Regions from separate parts of the Homo sapiens genome. Here region 2 is linked to region 1. Evidence: promoter capture Hi-C in human tissues and cell types (Jung and others, 2019). All regions are on one chromosome and are shown on one strand. The core of a region is centred on a gene start or on the middle of the fragment in contact, and the rest is flanking DNA. Distances in the headings are between cores, read along the strand shown. Region 1 holds the start of BAG5 (BAG cochaperone 5). Region 2 holds the start of CDCA4 (cell division cycle associated 4).

What was found. Contacts are between HindIII fragments. The study calls those that stand out against the background at their distance.
Region 2: the fragment with the promoter of CDCA4 here is called in contact with the fragment with the promoter of BAG5 in region 1 in 1 of the 25 tissues and cell types used here (small bowel).

Annotation. Positions count from the first base shown.
Region 1 is chr14:103,560,592-103,564,739 of GRCh38, forward strand. It overlaps BAG5 (BAG cochaperone 5), which reads right to left and starts at 2,066. Exons shown (of 2, transcript NM_001015048.3): 1 at 2,025-2,066; 2 at 1-601. The coding sequence starts at 573. It overlaps COA8 (cytochrome c oxidase assembly factor 8), which reads left to right and starts at 2,369. Exons shown (of 5, transcript NM_001370595.2): 1 at 2,369-2,533. The coding sequence starts at 2,411. RefSeq lists enhancers at 671-1,184, 1,284-1,333 and a silencer at 1,674-2,323. The HindIII fragment of the contact is 22,669 bases long and covers 1-4,148 here.
Region 2 is chr14:105,019,265-105,023,412 of GRCh38, forward strand. CDCA4 (cell division cycle associated 4) reads right to left here and starts at 1,819. Exons shown (of 2, transcript NM_017955.4): 1 at 1,735-1,819. RefSeq lists enhancers at 1-544, 996-1,511, 2,026-2,539, 2,555-2,614 and silencers at 1,165-1,254, 1,265-2,154, 2,185-2,254. The HindIII fragment of the contact is 13,458 bases long and covers 1-4,148 here.

The DNA of each region.
Region 1 (4,148 bases), core at 816-3,315:
ACACATCACGAAGTTGATTTTGGCAACGGAAGGATGTGCATCCTCGGAAAGCGGCAGGGAAGGCTGCTTTTTCATGCAGTCTTCGATTATCTCTTGCACCGCACAGATTTTGGTTAAAGTGTGATACCTTGCTTTCCGCAAGGAGATTTTTCCTCCAGTTTTAACATGTGTCAGCCTCAGAATGATATCTTGGATGCCTTCTTCAAACTCATCAGTTACGCAGTTGCCTCCATTATAAAATGGCACAATTTTCTCTCTCACGAGGGACTGGGCTTCCTCAAAAATGTTCTGTATTTCAATCCGGTGTGGGTGGTTTGCATTCTGCTCCAACTCTTTGAGAAGACGTTCTGTCTCCTGTGCTGCCCGCTTCCTAGCTTGCTGAATATCTCCTTTTCCTTCAGTATCTACAGAGTCTATTTCAAAAAGCTGTTTTGTTAGAATCCTCTCCAGTTTCTTGTAATTCTTGTCATCTGACAGACCACTGAAGCCGATAACTTGCTGTTCTACACTTTTTACTTCCTTTTGGATTTCCTGAAGCCTACTAATAGAAGGATGTTGGTTTCCCATATCCATACTTTTGTTGTGTTCAGTTTCACAAGCACTAAAAGACGACAAGAATGATAACTTACTACAGCACAAGGCTTCTGCAGAACACTAATGGTATATTAAGTCATTCTAAAATTCTCATTTTAAAAAGGTATACTTCTGAGCAGTCATCCCACCTCAGCCTCCCCAGTAGCTGGGTCTACAGTCGTACACCACTACGCCCAGCTAATGTTATTTTTAGTAGAGACAGGTCTCACTATATTGCCCAGGCTGGTCTCAGACGATCCGCCCGCCTCCGCCTCCCAAAGTGCTGGGATTAAGGTGTGAGTCACCGTACGCGACACAAACTATTTGGAACCAGCAGGGCACCTTTATGAAAGGTGAAACAGTAGCTCTTGTAACCTTCCGAACACTAACAGTACCCCGCCCCGCCACACAGCTATGCCTAGTTTCCAGAAACTCTAAGCAAAAGAAAGAACCAGAACAAAAACCAGTGGCTCTCAGACATCCCCAAGGTCCCCGCTTCTTCGTTTCTCTCCATCCCTTTGTGCACTTCCCCTCCCCACCCTTTTAGCTCCTCACACATCTTCCCTCACAGAAGTCTCCCTGAAGAGATTAAAACCCCACAGGTAAAGAAGAGCGACCGGGACAGCGCTGAAGGGCACCACCTTGGGCTTTCGAGGCCCAACACCTCCTCAGCCCCCAACATGCTCCACTCTCTCAAAAAAAAACAACCCGCGAAAACGTGGTAACTATGAATAATTCATTCACTCGCCTCCCACTGGGAGTCCACAATGGCCTAATGCACGTTTCAAGCTCTTGGTTTCTATCAAACGGCTCGCTCAAGGTGGGTAACCAATGGAAACGCATAATCTATCCCCGGCGGATGTCCTGGAGGCCACGGAGGGAAGGCGGCCCGAGCTGCTTCCTCCCCGCCTCGCCCTTCCCTCTTGGCCCTTTACCCAAAAGAAGTCTGAATTGGATGCGGTCTTGGCGTCCCGTGGCTGAGGTGGCGAGGTGGAAGATCAGCCCTTTACGGGGTGCGGCACCGGAGCTGGGCCCCCAGCTGCATGCCTCGCACCCCTCCCGACTAGGTCTGAGCGGGGCAGCCGGTGAAGGGGCCGCTACTGGCTGCAGCAGCCGCTCCGGGCGTCTTGGCCCGGGTGCCAGGGCGCGCCTGCAGGACGTGACCTCACAATGGGCGCGCGAGGGGAGCTCGGCCCGGCCGGGGGAAGCCGGGGGAGGAGGGGAACCGAGGCCCGGCCGGAGACACCAGAGACCAGGCCCGGCCAGCCCCGGTCGCTTCCGACCCCAGGGGCGGGGACAGCGCCGAGACCGACTCTGCCCTGCCTGATCCGACAGGCCGCACGGGGCTGGGCGCTGGCGAAGGGGTGGCCCAGCGGGGAGCCCCGCGCGGAGGTGGTGCCCCACTCGTCCCCCCGAGAGAGGGAAAAGGCTACAAGCCGCGCTTCGCTCACCTGTCCCGCCCGCGCCATCGCGCGATGCGTCGCCGACGCTTCCACGACTTCCGCAGCTCCGGCAGTCGCCCGGGCCCGGCAGCCCCGCCCCTGGCCGAACACCCCTAAACCCGGGGACACCTCCTCCGGCGTCCGCGCCTAGCCGCCGGCAGCGCCACGCCCACCGCCAGCGGCGCAGCGAGGCAGCCTGGAGTGACCGCGACCAAGGAGCGGCCGCCCGGGTCAGCCCGCGCCGCCCGCCGCCCCCTCACCCCGTCGCACCGCTGGGAAAGCGCACGGTCGGCCGCGCCGCCGCGCTTCCTCGGGCTTCGCGACCCTGCCGTAAAGCGGCCCCTCGCGCCGTCGCAATGCTGCCGTGCGCCGCGGGAGCCAGGGGGCGTGGGGCCATGGTGGTCTTGCGGGCGGGGAAGAAGACCTTTCTCCCCCCTCTCTGCCGCGCCTTCGCCTGCCGCGGCTGTCAACTCGCTCCGGAGCGCGGCGCCGAGCGCAGGGATACGGCGCCCAGCGGGGTAAGCAGGGGCCTGGGGACATTGGGCCGGGAGGGGTGACCGGAAGGGAAGACAAACCCGGGCCTCGGGGCCACTCCCTGTTCTGCACAGCCGCCTCAGGCCTTTGTCCAGGTGCTCTCGCGTCCTATCCCGAACAGTCCCGCAGCCCCGAGGCTCCCGCATCAACGCCCTCAGTCGGATGGGACTGAGGGTGCCGCCGCCACCACGCCGGGGACTGTTGACAGCCAGAACCTTTAAGCGTAACAGAGTCACCTGGCAAGTTTGTACCTACCTTATTTGTTCCCGAGAATGATTATTTTTTATTTTTAAAGAGCTCTTGGCTTACCGTGCGTTTTTTTTCGTTGTGTGTGTGTGTGTTTTGGCTTTGTTACAATTATTAGTGCTTTTCTTCAAGCGGCGAGCACTTTATCATCGTACTTTTGTAGCACTTCACGTTGAATAGTTGTTATTTGCAAACTATGTGTGGGTATATGCATGTTACTGGCCAAAGATCCGCAAAGAATGTCTGTAGCAAGAATGTCTGTGGCAAGCAATTTTTATAAGTGGTACTTTTGGGAGGGATGTTTTGTTTAAGGGAGGCCTAGGCCTTGATTCCGTCTGTCAGATGAAAATGTTGACTAACGGTGTGGAATGGGCTGGAGATAAAATATTCAAGCAAAGCATGCAAATACCAAACAGGCTAATGAAGGAGGCTGGAAAACTTGGTTTAAACAATAATTAAAGAAGTATTAAAAAAGTGTTAATTAAAAATTGGACGGGCTCCGTGGCTCACGCTTGTAATCCCAGCACTTTGGGAGGCCGAGGCAAGCGGATCACGAAATCAAGAGGTGAGACCATCCTGCCCAACATGGTGAAACGTCTCTGCTAAAAATACAGAAATTAGCTGGGCATAGTGGCGCGCGCCTGTAGACCCAGCTACTCGGGAGGATGAGGCAGGAAAATCGCTTGAACCCGGGAGACGGAGGTTGCTGTGAGTCGAGATCGCGCCACTGCACTCCAGCCTGGCGACAGAGGGAGACTTCATCTCAAAAAAAAAAAAGCTAATTAAAAATTGCAAATGTACTTGCTTGTACATTTTCATTTCTGTTGGGCTGTGGCTGTTAGTACACTTTCATAATTGTAGCTTTGAAGGTCTATCTAGTTTACAATTTAAACAAGGAGTTACCAGGGCAACTTGCCAACCAGACACCCAAGTGGCTAGCTCAGTTCTGTGTTACAGTGACCAAGTCCTTGCCTTCTATCCCTAGAACATAGAAACCCACCCAGCATCTCTATCTTTGGGCAGAAAGATAGAGCAGGTGTCTGAAAATGCTCTAAGAGAGCAAACGGGAAATCAACCAAGACATTTCCCGGGCGGGGGGGATTTTCCCTAGCTTATTTTGTGAACTTGTGCTGGAAAGAAACAACAGCACCCAAATAAGGATTTCTCTATTGTCATATACACTTCTTTTTTTTTTTTTTTTTTTTTTTTTTGAGTTGGAGTCTCCCTCTGTCGCCCAGGTGGGAGTACAGTGGCGTGATCTCAGCTCACTGCAACCTCTGCCTCCCGGGCTCAAGCGATTCTCGTGCCTCAGCCTTCCGAGTAGCTGGGACTACAGGGGCCCACCACCATGCC
Region 2 (4,148 bases), core at 569-3,068, 1.5 Mb after region 1:
ACCTAGGCCCACCGAGGCAGAGGCCAGCAGGGAGCAGCCCCGCAGTGCTGCTCAGGCAAGCAGAGTACAGCTCGGGGACTGGTCCTTCACTACAGCAGCAGTGGCCACACCTTCGTGGCTGAGCAATACCACGAGGCTGGCTGAAAACGCAGATTCCCAGATTCTGATCAGTAGGGCTGGGACGGTTGGGGACAGACTCAACTCTGACCTAACCTGTCACCTTCACAGCTGGACTTGCAGCCACTTCAAAGTTTCGGGTTTTTAAGCAAATCATCAACAATTTCCATTCCTCACACATCAGATAAGCTTTGAAATACTTTATCGGAAAAACAGGGAGAAGAGGAGCAAGGTCTGCAGTCTTGAGTACTGAGTGGGAGCTCCACCTTCCACTACAAGTCTCCTGGAGGCTGTTCATGAACAATTACTGTTATGTTAATTTCAGGTATTTGGTTTTTTTTGTTTTTTGAGACGGAGTCTCGCTCTGTCGCCCAGGCTGGAGTGCAATGGCACGATCTCGGCTGAGACCTCTGCCTTTCTGGTTCAAGCGATTCTCCTGCCTCAGCCTCCCACATAGCTAGGATTATGATTACAGGCATGCGCCATCACGCCCAGCTAATTTTTGTATTTTTAGTACAGACGGGGTTTCACCACGTTGGCCAGCTAGTCTCGAACTCGGGACCTCAGGAGATCCACCCGCCTAGGCCTCCTCTCAAAGTGCTGGGAGGTGTGAGCTACCGCGCCCAGCCAATTGCAGGTACTTTTGTTACTTGGAACGAAACACACTCCTTCTTTTCCCTGAAAACATGTTCCAGTGGCAAGTTGAGGGAAACTTCCTAGCCCCTTTTCCAAGATACAGCCTACTACTCTTCCTAGAAAAGGGGTGTAACTCACTTTGTATTCTGGATTTCCACCCTAATTATAAAACACGGTGACACTTGAAAATAGAGTGGTTGTACGTAGAAAGTTGATAAAACGTAAGTTTTGTGAACAGGCAATGTTTTTCTGTGGCTCGCTTTGAGAGAACGGTTATCTGGGTCCCGCCGTCCCGTGCGTCCCACACGAAGGCCACAGGAGAAGCGAGGCAGCGGAGACCCTCTATTCCAGCAAGCTGTCGGAGCCTTTGCCACGACGATCCTGTTTGCGGGGCGAGAAGCGTCTGAAGACGCGGAGGGAGGCTTGCGTCTGACTTCTGCAAGTGTCTCGGGGACTTTCCCTAGTCCCACCTCGCACCGCCGGAGGAGCCCAGGGAAGACGGCGCTGGCCGACCCGCCCGGGGTCTGGGCCTCCTCCCACATCCGCGGCCCTCTCCGCGGCCGGGCTCCGACAGAGGGGGCTGCGGCGCGCCTGGCGTTCCCTCCGCTGCAACTAGAGCCGAGGTACGGGAAACGCCGCTGCGTACCCCAGCCGGGCCCTCGTGAAGCGGCTCCCGCGTGGGGCCGCCCGCAGGCCTCGGCAAAGCCCCAGCTCCGCGCTCCGCAAGGAACGCAGACGGCGGCCCGGGCCCCTCTGTTCCCCGGGCCCCCTCAGCAGCGGCCACCCCGCGGGGGAACCAGCGCCCAGGAGGGCGGCGAGGGCGCCGCGGCAGCCCCAGCGGTGGTCCCGGGCGCCGCCTCCGCCCCGGACCCAGCGCCAGGAGCCACAGACTCCGCGCACCGCCCCCAGGCTCCTCCGCGCCCTGCAGCACAAAAGTGCACGCCGCCGTAGACGCCCTAGCGGTCCGCCGGGCCCGCTCACCTGACCCGCGAGGCCGCCCGCCGGGTCCTCTGCTCAGCCACCGCCACCGCCGCTGCCGCCAGCTTCCCGCCGCTGAGGAAGGAGCGCCCGACGGCGCGGGGCGGGGCGAGCGACCGCCACTCGGCGTCCACAAAGGGTCGACGCTGCGCTCTCCGCGCGCTACGCCCGCTGATTGGCCACTCGCGGGCCGGGGGCGGGGCCTCTTGTTCAAACCCACGCGGGCGGGGCATCTGTGGCGCGTCTTCCCGCGCTGCGGCGACGGCCGTTGGGGCTCGCGCGCGCCCTCGGTTGCCCCGCCCCCGCCCCTGCGCCCGGCCCCGCCACGCCCACGCCCCGCCGGCTCCCAGGTCTCCCCGCGCCCAGTCCGGCCCCGCCCCGCCAGCTCCCAGGTCTCCGCGCGTCTGGCCCTGAACTGAACGCGCCTGCGCCTGGGGCCCACGTGGGGCCCTCGGGCGGGCGTGGCGGGGCAAACAGAGGTTTGGACTCTCTCGCTTCTGCCTGGCTCAACTTCTCCGCCGAGGCATCCGTGCCGGGGTCGGGAGGAGCCGGGCACGGCAATTCCCGGGCGGTCTGGGCTCCGAGGTCTATCCAAGCCTCTCCAGAGACCGGGGTTATCTCCAAAGGCTTCCTAGGTTTACACGTAAGAAATGTAACGTGAAAGTTCAAAGCAGGGGACACGTGTTTTAAATCTCTTAGTGGAAAAGGTTTTAAATAGGATGCGAGAACCTGCAATCATTGACTTAAGTAATACCCTGAGCGCCTGCAGCAGGCCCGGCAGGCGTGGCTGCAGCTGAGAGCCAAGTGCTGGAAGTTGGGGGGGAATCCTCAGATCAATCCGCAGGTGCGGATGCGCCAAGGTCGGTGGTAAATGCTGAAATGCTGTCGGGAAACCTGGGAGTGACGTGGGGGCGCTGCTCACATAGGTCTCTAGGATAAGGAGCGTCTTAAAGCACCAAAAGGAAGAGTGGACGAGAATTCAGGAGAGGAATGGCTGGGGCAAAGCCCGAGGCAGGGGCAGGAGGCAGGAGCACGTCTCAGTGCAGTGAGAAAGAACCCTGTGATCTCGTGGGAAAGTTTTAAGTGTGAGGGGTGGAGGGACTTTTGGGCTATTCTGGGAGTGGGATGGAGACTACTGGCATGGTCAGCAGAGAAGGAACTGGAATCTGAATTGTGCTTGAAAAGAATCACTGTTCTTATTTAAAAAAAAAAAAAAGGGGGTCTCTTTCGCCCAGGCTGGACAACAGTGGCGTGATTATGGCTCACTGTATCCTCGAACTCTTGTGCTCGAGTGATTCTCACGCCTCAGCCTCCCAAGTAGCTGGGACTACAGAAGTGTGCCACTACACCAAGCTAACTTTTTTTTTTTTTTTGGTAATTTTGTAGAGACAGGGTATTGTCTTGTTACACAGGCTGGTCTCCAACTCCTGGCCTTAAGTGATCCTCCTACCTTGGCCTCCCAAAGTTCTGGGATTACAGGCATGAGGCACCACAACCACCAAGAATCACTGTTGGTAATAGATTTGGAGGAGGTGGCAGGAAGGCTGGAAGTAGAAAATCCCATTAGGTTACTGCCCAGGTAAAAGAAAATGGGACTTGATAAAGGTGACTACCTGAGAATTTAAAGTTTATGCATGTCAAAGTGAAAAGACAAATGGGGAAAAAAGTTTTTCCTGGCTGTATCCCACATAAAGGTTAAATTCCTTAATATACAGATATTCTGCAAATGCAAATGAAATCTAGATCACCAAAGAAAAGTGGTTTGGAAATAGTGGCACCCACCTGTAATCCCAGCTACTCAGGAGGCTGGGGTGAGAGAATCCCTTGAGCCCAGGAGTTGGAGGCTGCAGTGAACTATGATTGCACCACTGCACTCCAGCCTGGGCAGCAGAGTGAGACCCCATCTCTTAAAAAAAGAAAAGAAAAGTGGGCGTAGAATATAAACACAGTTCAGAGCAAAGAAAATACAAATGCTCCTATACAGGCGAATAGATGCTCAGCCCCAATCAGAACAAGAGCAGTGGAAATTAAAGCTATGCTGGAGTGCTGTTTGCCACGGGTCAAATTGGCAAAGATCTAAAATAATGTCTGGAGTAAGATAATATCTTCCAGAGCATATTAGTCTATTCTCATGCTGCTAATAAAGACATACCCGAGACTGGGTAATTTATAAAGAAAAAGAGGTTTAATGGACTCGCAATCATGGCAGGAGACAAAGGAAAAGCGAAGGGACGTCTTACACGGCGGCAGGCAAGAGAGCGTGTGCAGGGAGCTCCCCTTTATAAAACCGTCAGATCTCAGGAAATGTATTCACTATCCGGAGAACAGAACAGGAAAGCCTGCCCCATGATTCAGTTACCTCCTGCCGGGTCCCTCCCACGACATGGGAATTATAGGAGCTACAATTCAAGATGAGA